Linked DNA regions of Homo sapiens: all the other regions are linked to region 3. Evidence: promoter capture Hi-C in human tissues and cell types (Jung and others, 2019). All regions are on one chromosome and are shown on one strand. The core of a region is centred on a gene start or on the middle of the fragment in contact, and the rest is flanking DNA. Distances in the headings are between cores, read along the strand shown.

Region 1 (3,081 bases), core at 5-2,504, 210 kb after region 3:
TCGGGCCTACCAAGACACCCACCATGGATGGAGTAAACTCTTAGGAAAGAGAAGGAGGCCCTGCTGGGCAGCTGCTCTGCTAAGGTATGGGGACAGGGAGGTGGGGCCAGCATGCTACTTCCTGAGCCTTTCATATTCTGAGCCACTGAGTCAGTGTCTAACAGCTGACACGAGGGTGAGAGGCCAAGTTAGGGGCCAACCTGAGGGGTGAGAAAGCAAAAAAATGAAAACCCACCCGATTCAAGCACTTACTTTAGACTTAAAAAGTAAAGGACAAAAATAAAGTTAAACCACCTCCTTCATCCTTGTACGCAAGGGAAGCCAAGAAGAAACAGGGCAAAGAGTCGTTTTCCATGGCCATCCTAAGGTTTACCAGATGTCACCATGGCAGCGTGTTCAGAGTCACTGTGATGAAGGCAGATGCTCCGGGGCAAGAAACACTGAGCTGCTGGGAAGACTGGGGTTCTGGTCTACCCCAATTTCCTGGTTAGGAGCAGGTGCTGGAGAAGCATGGGGTGCTACTCTCAGGTAGAAAGTTAACCCCTGGACACTGAGAGATCAAACTCTCTGCCAAGTCCCCAGAGGTACCCGGGTACAAAAAGCCTAGTGATCAAGGACTGAACCTGTTTTCATTTCAACAATGCTACCAGAAGAGCATGCCACCACTTCCATGGGGCAACACCCCACTTTCTAAGGAGGCAGCTGGCTGCAGAGCCATGGTGCTTACCTGCTGGGCTAATGATTAGCCCTGCATGCCATCTTACTCTGTTTTACTTCAATTAAGAAACTAGGCCAGGCACAGTGGCTCATGCCTGTGATCCCAGCACTCTGGGAGGCCGAGGTGGGCAGATCACCTGAGGCCAGGAGTTTGAGACCAGCCTGGTCAACATGGTGAAACTCCGTCTCTACTAAAAGTACAACAATTAGCCAGGCGTGGTGGCGGGCGCCTGTAATCCCAGCTACTAGGGAGACTGAGCCAAGAGAATCACTTGAACCCAGAAGGTGGAGGTTGCAGTGAGCTGAGATTGTGCCACTGCACTCCAGCCTGGGTGACAAGAGTGAAACTCCATCTCAAAAAAAAAAAAAAAAGAAAAAGAAAAGAAAAAGAAAAAAAAGAAAGAAAGAAACTAGAGAGGCCCAGGGTCTTCCTGTCCACAGAACTGTGGCTGAGGATACCCATGTCCCACAATGTTCCTGAAAAGAAGGCGCCAGCCAGCAGCAATGCACCAGCCCAAACACCCATGTGGCGAGATGCCCATTGCGTATTCTGGGGCGGCACCAGAGGCATCTCTCTCCAGCTGCTCTTCAGGGAACTGGGAACACACAATTCCCATCTGCTGCCTCTCCAGCTCTGATGGTGTCTGATCACTCATCCTTCACCAGCAACTTTACAGCAATCTTTTGAAAATCAATCACATATGAATTTCTCCCACATCTAAATTTACTTTTTGATAACAACCCCACACTTCAATAAGAATGACATATGCTAATCATAAAAAATTCTGAAGACTACAAAAATACACAAATCACGTGAAGCCTCGTTGCCCAGCAATGACTCTTTCCAGAAGTCTTTATGCACAGGTTCGTACGTGAAATCATACTATGCCTGTGGTTTCCTCAGCATTCTACATAAACACAGATCTCCACCTAAGCTGATACTAAAAAGCATCGTGTGTGAACTTCTGTGCTGTGCACAATCCCCTTGGGGAGGCAGGGGGCAGTCAGAATTTAAAGCCCAGCTTGGGTACTGGTAAACTGTAGTTTCCTGGGCCACTCACTTAACTTCTAAGTGTGAATGTTCCCTCATCCATAAAATGGGATAACAACAGGACAGCCTCAGCATATGGGTGTGACGTTTCAATGAAACACTTCCAATGAGGTGCTGGCTGGCAGACAGAAGGGCTGCAATGTCCGCTCTGTCATTAACATCGAGGACTCAGAACCACAGGGTCAAAGGCACACAAATTTTACTATACCCAAAAGCCTTAATTGTATGCGCAGCTAATTCCCAAACACAGGGTTCAGAAGCACCTGCAAGCATCTCCCTCGGTGCAGGCAGAACTACCAAATCCACAATAGAGGGCCCTACAGGCACTGTTTAAAGGATTCTCAGCTGTGGGAGACCCAGGCCCCTCTCTGCCCCTTTCCTAGAGTAGTGCTGTGGCTTCCTGAGCAAGATGACGGGCGTTGTGGAGCGGCTGCAGCCAGATGAAGCAAGCTTTCCACAGCAGGGCTTTGTCCAAGAGCTCTGCTCCTGTTTTTTTTTCTTTTTTTTTTTTGAGACCGGGACTCATTTTGTCACCCAGGCTGGAGTACAGTGGTGTAATCACAGCTTACTGCAGCCTCAAACTCCCAGGCTCAATCAATTCTCCGGTCTCAGCCTCCTGAGCAGCTGAGACTACAGGCATGTGCCACCACACCCAGCTAATTCTTGTATTTTTTGTAGAGATGAGGTCTAATCATGTTGTCAAGCTGGTCTCAAACTCCTAGGCTCAAGCAATCCACCTGCCTTAGCCTCCCGAAGGCTGGGATTACAGGCATGAGCCACTGCACCTGGCCCCCAAGAGCTCTGCTCTTACATATTTCACTTGTCCATGCTTTCAGAGACATTATCAACCAAACTGCTTGGTGACTGTGAATAAATAAAGTCCAAGTTTACATTCTCTCCTGCCTTTTTATATATATGTTACTTGTTTCTGCACATGATTACAAAAACTGAATTAGGATGAATTAAGGTCCATGCCTTTTTTTTATTCTTTTGTGATGGAGTCTCACTCTGTTGCCCAGGCTGAAGTGCAGTGGCATGATCTTGGCTCCCTGCAACCTCCACCTTCCGGGTTCAAGAAATTCTCCTGCCTCATCCTCCCGAGTAGCTGGGATTACAGACATCTGCCACCATGCCCGGCTAATTTTTGTATTTTTAGTAGAGACAGGGTTTCACTGTGTTAGCCAGGCTGGTCTCGATCTCCTGACCTCAAGTGATCCACCCACCTCGGCCTCCCAAAGTGCTGGGATTACAGGCGTGAGCCACAGCATCCGGCCCACTCCTATCTTTTTAAAGAGCTGAAAAACATCATGATG
Region 2 (3,130 bases), core at 471-2,970, 140 kb after region 3:
AACGAACACCTCCTGGGGAGAACAGAAATTTCCCTCTCCACGCTTCCTTTATATCTAAAGTCAGACAGCTAATAAATCATGAGACATGTACCCTCAGCAGGGAAATAGGACTGATTATGTTTTTTTAAAAGCTGGTTACCAAGGAATGGTGGCACATGCCTGTGATCCCGGCTACTCAAGTGACCCTCCCACCTCAGCCTTCCAAAGTGCTGAGATTACAGGCATGAGCCAAAGCACCCAGCCCTACAATCTCTTAAATGAAAAATGTATTAAAGGAGATTAAAACTAACTTAGGGCCGGGCACAGCAGCTCACGCCTGTAATCCCAGCACATCGGGAGGCCAAAAACAGGCAGATCCACCTGAGGCCAGGAGTTCGAGACCAGCCTGCATAACACGGTGAAACCCTGTCTATACTAAAAATACAAAATTAGCCAGTCATGGTGGCACGTGCCTGTAATTCCAGCTACTTGGGAGGCTGAGGCAGAGAATCGCTTGAACTTGGGAGGCGGAGCTTGCAGTGAGCCAAGATTGTACCAGTGCACTCCAGCCTGGGTGACCAAGCAAGACCGTCTCAAAAAAAAAAAAAAAAAGACAGAAAGAGAAAAGAAGGAAGGAAGGAAGGAAGGGAGGGAGGGAGGAAGGGAGGGAGGGAGGGAAGGAGGAAGGAAGTGAGGGAGGGAGGGAGGAAGGGAGGAAAGAAGAAAGGAAGGAAGGAAAGAAAGAAGGAAAGGGAAGGTGAGAGGCTGAGCTGGGCGGATCACTTGAGGCCAGGAGTTTGAAACCAGCCTGGCCAACAGGCTGAAACCCCGACTCTACTAAAAATACAAAACTTAGCCGGGTGTGGTGACGCTCACCTGTAATCCCAGCTACTTGGAAGGCTGAGGCGGGAGAATGGCTTGAACCCGGGAGGCAGAGGCTGCGGTGAGCGGAGATTGCGCCACCGCACTCCAGCCTGGGCCACAGAGCCTGAACCTGTCTCATAAATAAATAAAGTAATAGAAACAAATCAAACTGAAGTACAGAAAGAAAAAAGCTTGCAGAAAGTAAGCAGAGCCTCGGTGAGCTGTGAGAAAATCTAAGCTAAGGAACGCACAGGGAGCTGGACAGCAGGAAGAGGAGAAAGGAGAGCACAAAAATACTGGAAGAACTGTCTGAAAATTTTCCAAATTCGATGCAAAGTATAAACCAACAGTTCAAAGATGCTCAACAAGTTCCACGCAAAATATACACAAAAAAATCACACCAATACACATCATAACCAAACTGTTAAGAGCCAGTGACAATGAGAAATCTTAAAAGCAAAAAAAAAAAAAGAAACCACCAAAAATAATTATTATCAGTAATTTATCATCAGAATCAATGAAAGACAGAAGAAAATGAGAGAACATCTTTAGCGATAAAAGAAAAAAGGTCAACCTAAAATTCTATACGCAGTGAAATAAAAGCATTTTCAGAGAAACAAAAACAGAGAATTCATCACCATCAGCATACATGTACTGCAAAAAATGTTAAAGTTCTTCAGTAGAGGAGAAATGACAAGACAGAAATTTGCATCCACATAAAGAAATATACGTAAGCAGAATATGTATGGAAAAAAAATTTTTAAAGAAAGAAAATAAATATTAAGAAATAATAGTTGGGCCAGGCGCGGTGGCTCATGCCTGTCATCCTGCCACTTTGGGAGGCTGAGGCGAGAGGGTCACTGGAGGCCAGGAGTTCGAGACCAGCCTGGCCAACATGGCAAAACCCCATCTCTACTAAAAATACAAAAATTAACCAGGTGAGTAGGTGGGTGTAATCTCAGCTACTCAGGAGGCTGAGGCACAAGAATCACTTGAACCTGGGAGGCAGAGGTTGCCGTGAGCTGAGATCGCACCACTGCACTCCAGCCTGGGACACAGAGCAAGACTCTGTCTCAAAAAAAAAAAAAAATGAAGGTTACCAGAAATGGCAACTATATGAGGTAACTATATATGGGGTGACTTTTGTGGTGAGAACACTTAAAATCTACACATTTTTTTGAGACTATATTGTTATTAACTGTAGTCACCATGTTGTAAAACGGATCTTTTGAACTTATTCCTCCTATCTAAATGAAATTCTGTATCCAACGTCTCCCCTGACCACCCCAGCGCCTGACCACCATTCTACTCTCTACTTCTGTGAGTTCAACATCTTTACATTCCACATATATTTTAAGGCGTGTTTCACGTCATCAGTGGTTTGCATCTAAGGTAATAACGTGCTGGGAAGCTCAGATCACAGGCAAAGTGAAGGACAACAGCACAAAGGCAGGAAATGGAAGAACACTTGTGTGGAGCCACACGTTAAACATCAAATAGTGTAATATCTGAAGCTCACTGTGATAACTTAAGGAAACTGAGTGCACACACTAGAACAATCCTTAAAATACAGGGGCCGGGGCAGTGGCTCACGCCTGTAATCCTAGCACTTTGGGAGGCCGAGGTGGGTGGATCACTTGGGGTCAGGGGTTCGAGACCAGCCTGGCCAAAATGGTGAAAACCTGTCTCTACTAAAAATACAAAAACATTAGCCGGGTGTGGTGGCGCACACCTATAATCCCAGCTACTGCGGAGGCTGAGGCATGAGAATCGCTTGAACCTGGGAAGCAGAGGTTGTAGTGAGCCAAGATCATGCCATTGCAAATTGTACTCCAGCCTGGGCAACAGTGCAAGACTCCGTCTCAAAAAAAAAAAAAAAAAAAAAAGCATGGCTAATAAGACAAGAGTGGGGAAAAAAACGGAATACTAAAAAATACCTGATTAGTCCAAAAGAAGACAGCAAAGGAGCAGAAGGAACAAACAGAAAACTAATAGCAAGATGGTGAACCTAAATCCCACCATATCATTAATTATGTTAAATATGAACAGACCAAATATTGCAATGAAGGCCGGGTGCGGTGGCTCATGCCTGTAATCCCAGCACTTTACAGGGAGGGGAGGCCAAGGTGGGCAGATCATTTGAGGTCAGGAGTTCGAGACCAGCCTGCCCAGCATGGTGAAATCCTGTCTCTGTTAAAAATACAAAAATTAGCTGGCTTTCAAAGGATTTCAATTATGTAATGTTCTTTGACCACAACAGAAGTCAACTAAAAAATTAAAATTAGAA
Region 3 (3,494 bases), core at 917-3,416:
TCGGGGTGGGGTCCCAGGACCCTGTAGGTTCAGCCTACTAGTCCAGGCCCAATGCCCAATGCCTGCATCCCTGCAGGCCCTGTGCTCTCCAGGCTCAGACCCCTCGCAGCCCTGCAGACCCTCCCTGGGTCCATGTGTCTCTTTGCAGGTGCTCCAGCGAGTAGCAATGTGGAGAGACCATCAGGCAGCCCTGGCCTCAGTGGCCGCAGTCCCCTGGCTCCACGCTGGGCCCACCCCACCAGGTCTCCTCTCCCATGGCCCAGGGGCCTTCAGTGGGACTGAGAGGAGGAGGGAAGGAGAGTGGGTGACAGGGAAGAACTGCAGGGAGAGAGGAGAGGGGTGGGAGAAGGAGAAGGAAGGAAGGGGTAGGATGGAAGCTGGGTTTCTCCCTGTGCCCGCCCCCTACTCCAGGACATGTGTCCAAGCCCTGGCAGGTGGAATTTTGGGGGCAGGGCCTTGGTGGTGAGGAGACCTTCCAGGGGTCTGATAGCATCTCCCATCTCAGAGCCCACCTCCTGGGCCCAGCCTCCCCTCCAGCCCACACAGTGGCATTCCCAGTCCTCAGAGGACAGCTTCGTCCCACAAAGCTCAGAGCCTTGAGGAAGGCCCACTGCTGCCCTGGAACAGAGACAGCATTCAACAGAGGTTGGAACAAGGCTCTACAGGGCTGGGGGCAGAGGGAGGTTCTGTCCAGAATCTGCCTTCAGGACAAGTACAGCCAGCAGGGGCAGCTTAGCCACTTATCCACTGCCTGGGCGAGGCACAGGGCTATGGAGGCACCTACCAACCAACAGTTCTCCAGCCCCAGAGCCCCAGCCCCTGAGGCACAAGGGTGGGTGTGCCAGGAGACAGTTGCTGCGGGCCACCTTAGCTGTCTGGCAGCACAGTGGGTGCTGCCAGGCTCCCTGGGGGCCCCCCGCCAAGCCCACCTGGCCAGCTGGGCCCCCCCCACCTCCCCACCAAGCCACCCACACAGCCTCACATCTCTGAGACCCGGGAGTGGCCCTTTGTTCATAAACGAGAGCTTCCTCGCCGTGGCCGCGCCTCGCAGACATCATCTTTGATGCTCTTTTTCCACTGTTTCGGTGCTTTAATGTTTTCCCTTCAGAGCCGGGCCGAGTGTCTCTCGGAGCCAGGCAGCCGCGCCAGCTGTCAGGCGGTTTCTAGCCTCGCTTCGGTTATTTTAAGCTGATGAGCCTGACGCATCTCATCACTAATATCAGCAGTTTCATTTCTCCTGTTTTCCATTCGCTGTAATAAAATGCTCAGCACAGAATACAAGGAGATAAGCAAGCCATTTCACAAACGCCGGGCCGCCAGCCAGGCCCAGGCACTGGACCCCCTGAACCACCCCACCCTGGCACGAGTGGGCTGGAGGGCAGGGCCCCGGGGAAGAAGGTCAAGGCTGGAAGGGGAGGTCAGCCTCACAGCCAGCCCCTGCCACCGCCCCAGCCCCCCCGTCAGGCTGTTGCAGGCATCACACGGTGGAAAGATCTGGAACTGTGGCCATGGTGTGAGGCCATCCACAAGGTGGAAGCTTTGAGGGGGAGCCGATTAGCCATGGACAGTTGTCATTCAGTAGGGTCACCTGTGCCCCAGCGAAGGGGGATGGGCCGGGAAGGCAGAGGCCAGGCACCTGCCCCCAGCAGGGGCAGAGGCTGTGGGCAGCCGGGAGGCTCCCAGAGGCTCCGACAGAATGGGAGTGGGGTTGAGCCCACCCCTCACTGCAGCCCAGGAACCTGAGCCCAGAGGGGGCCACCCACCTTCCCCAGGCAGGGAGGCCCGGCCCCCAGGGAGATGGGGGGGATGGGGGAGGAGAAGGGCCTGCCCCCACCCGGCAGCCTCAGGAGGGGCAGCTCGGGCGGGATATGGAAAGAGGCCACAGCAGTGAGCAGAGACACAGAGGAGGAAGGGGCCCTGAGCTGGGGAGACCCCCACGGGGTAGGGCGTGGGGGCCACGGGCCCACCTCCTCCCCATCTCCTCTGTCTCCCTGTCTCTGTCTCTCTCTCCCTCCCCCACCCTCTCCCCAGTCCTACCCCCTCCTCACCCCTCCTCCCCCAGCACTGCCTCTGTCACTCTCGCCCACGTGGATGTGGAGGAAGAGGGGGCGGGAGCAAGGGGCGGGCACCCTCCCTTCAACCTGACCTGGGACAGTTTCCCTTCCGCTCACCTCCGCCTGAGCAGTGGAGAAGGCGGCACTCTGGTGGGGCTGCTCCAGGCATGCAGATCCCACAGGCGCCCTGGCCAGTCGTCTGGGCGGTGCTACAACTGGGCTGGCGGCCAGGATGGTTCTTAGGTAGGTGGGGTCGGCGGTCAGGTGTCCCAGAGCCAGGGGTCTGGAGGGACCTTCCACCCTCAGTCCCTGGCAGGTCGGGGGGTGCTGAGGCGGGCCTGGCCCTGGCAGCCCAGGGGTCCCGGAGCGAGGGGTCTGGAGGGACCTTTCACTCTCAGTCCCTGGCAGGTCGGGGGGTGCTGTGGCAGGCCCAGCCTTGGCCCCCAGCTCTGCCCCTTACCCTGAGCTGTGTGGCTTTGGGCAGCTCGAACTCCTGGGTTCCTCTCTGGGCCCCAACTCCTCCCCTGGCCCAAGTCCCCTCTTTGCTCCTGGGCAGGCAGGACCTCTGTCCCCTCTCAGCCGGTCCTTGGGGCTGCGTGTTTCTGTAGAATGACGGGTCAGGCTGGCCAGAACCCCAAACCTTGGCCGTGGGGAGTCTGCGTGGCGGCTCTGCCTTGCCCAGGCATCCTTGGTCCTCACTCGAGTTTTCCTAAGGATGGGATGAGCCCCATGTGGGACTAACCTTGGCTTTACGACGTCAAAGTTTAGATGAGCTGGTGATATTTTTCTCATTATATCCAAAGTGTACCTGTTCGAGTGAGGACAGTTCTTCTGTCTCCAGGATCCCTCCTGGGTGGGGATTGTGCCCGCCTGGGTCTCTGCCCAGATTCCAGGGCTCTCCCCGAGCCCTGTTCAGACCATCCGTGGGGGAGGCCTTGGCCTCACTCTCCCGGATCGAGGAGAGAGGGAGCCTCTTCCTGGGCTGCCCGTGACCCTGGGCCCTCTGTGTACACTGTGACCACAGCCCGCTCCTGGACCCTCTGTGCCCGGCTGGCCCTCTGTGCCCAGCCAGCCTGCACCTGGGGATGCCAAGGCCTGGGGAGGGTGGTTTCACCCAGGCCAAGCCTAAGACAGTCCCTCTGGGCCCTGCTGGGTACCGGGGTGTGACACCACTGGGAGGACAAGATGAGGGGCACCCCTGGGGCCGCCCTGACACCCCCTCGAGGCTCCTGCCCCGGGGGTCCTGGTGCCCCTTCACTGTGGCAGGCGACTGGGGGTTCCCCACCTCGGCCCCTCTCCCGGGGCCTGCTCCCCGGCACCTGAGGCAGCATCCTTGTCAGGGCCGTGCCTTCCTGCCTCAGCGCCACCTCTTAAGGTTGGCCCGTGGGTCACTCAGGACTCAGAACTGGAGATTCTGGGCAAAAGGCAAAGAGCAAAGGG

What was found. Contacts are between HindIII fragments. The study calls those that stand out against the background at their distance.
Region 1: a contact is called between a fragment that was not itself captured here and the fragment with the promoter of PDCD1 in region 3, in 2 of the 25 tissues and cell types used here (fat and lymphoblastoid cells).
Region 2: a fragment that was not itself captured here is called in contact with the fragment with the promoter of PDCD1 in region 3 in 2 of the 25 tissues and cell types used here (lymphoblastoid cells and spleen).

What each region holds. Positions count from the first base shown.
Region 1 is chr2:241,647,793-241,650,873 of GRCh38, reverse strand. The region is part of intron 1 of ATG4B (autophagy related 4B cysteine peptidase); the gene reads right to left. Among named protein-coding and RNA genes, the nearest start is that of ATG4B, 12 kb to the right of the region's middle. The HindIII fragment of the contact is 8,495 bases long and covers 1-3,081 here.
Region 2 is chr2:241,715,881-241,719,010 of GRCh38, reverse strand. The region is part of intron 5 of ING5 (inhibitor of growth family member 5); the gene reads right to left. Among named protein-coding and RNA genes, the nearest start is that of ING5, 15 kb to the right of the region's middle. The HindIII fragment of the contact is 9,714 bases long and covers 1-3,130 here.
Region 3 is chr2:241,857,566-241,861,059 of GRCh38, reverse strand. PDCD1 (programmed cell death 1) reads left to right here and starts at 2,166. Exons shown (of 5, transcript NM_005018.3): 1 at 2,166-2,297. The coding sequence starts at 2,222. LOC124908032 (a long non-coding RNA gene) reads right to left here and starts at 1,988. Exons shown (of 2, transcript XR_007088436.1): 1 at 983-1,988. RefSeq lists an enhancer at 1,998-2,960. The HindIII fragment of the contact is 28,999 bases long and covers 1-3,494 here.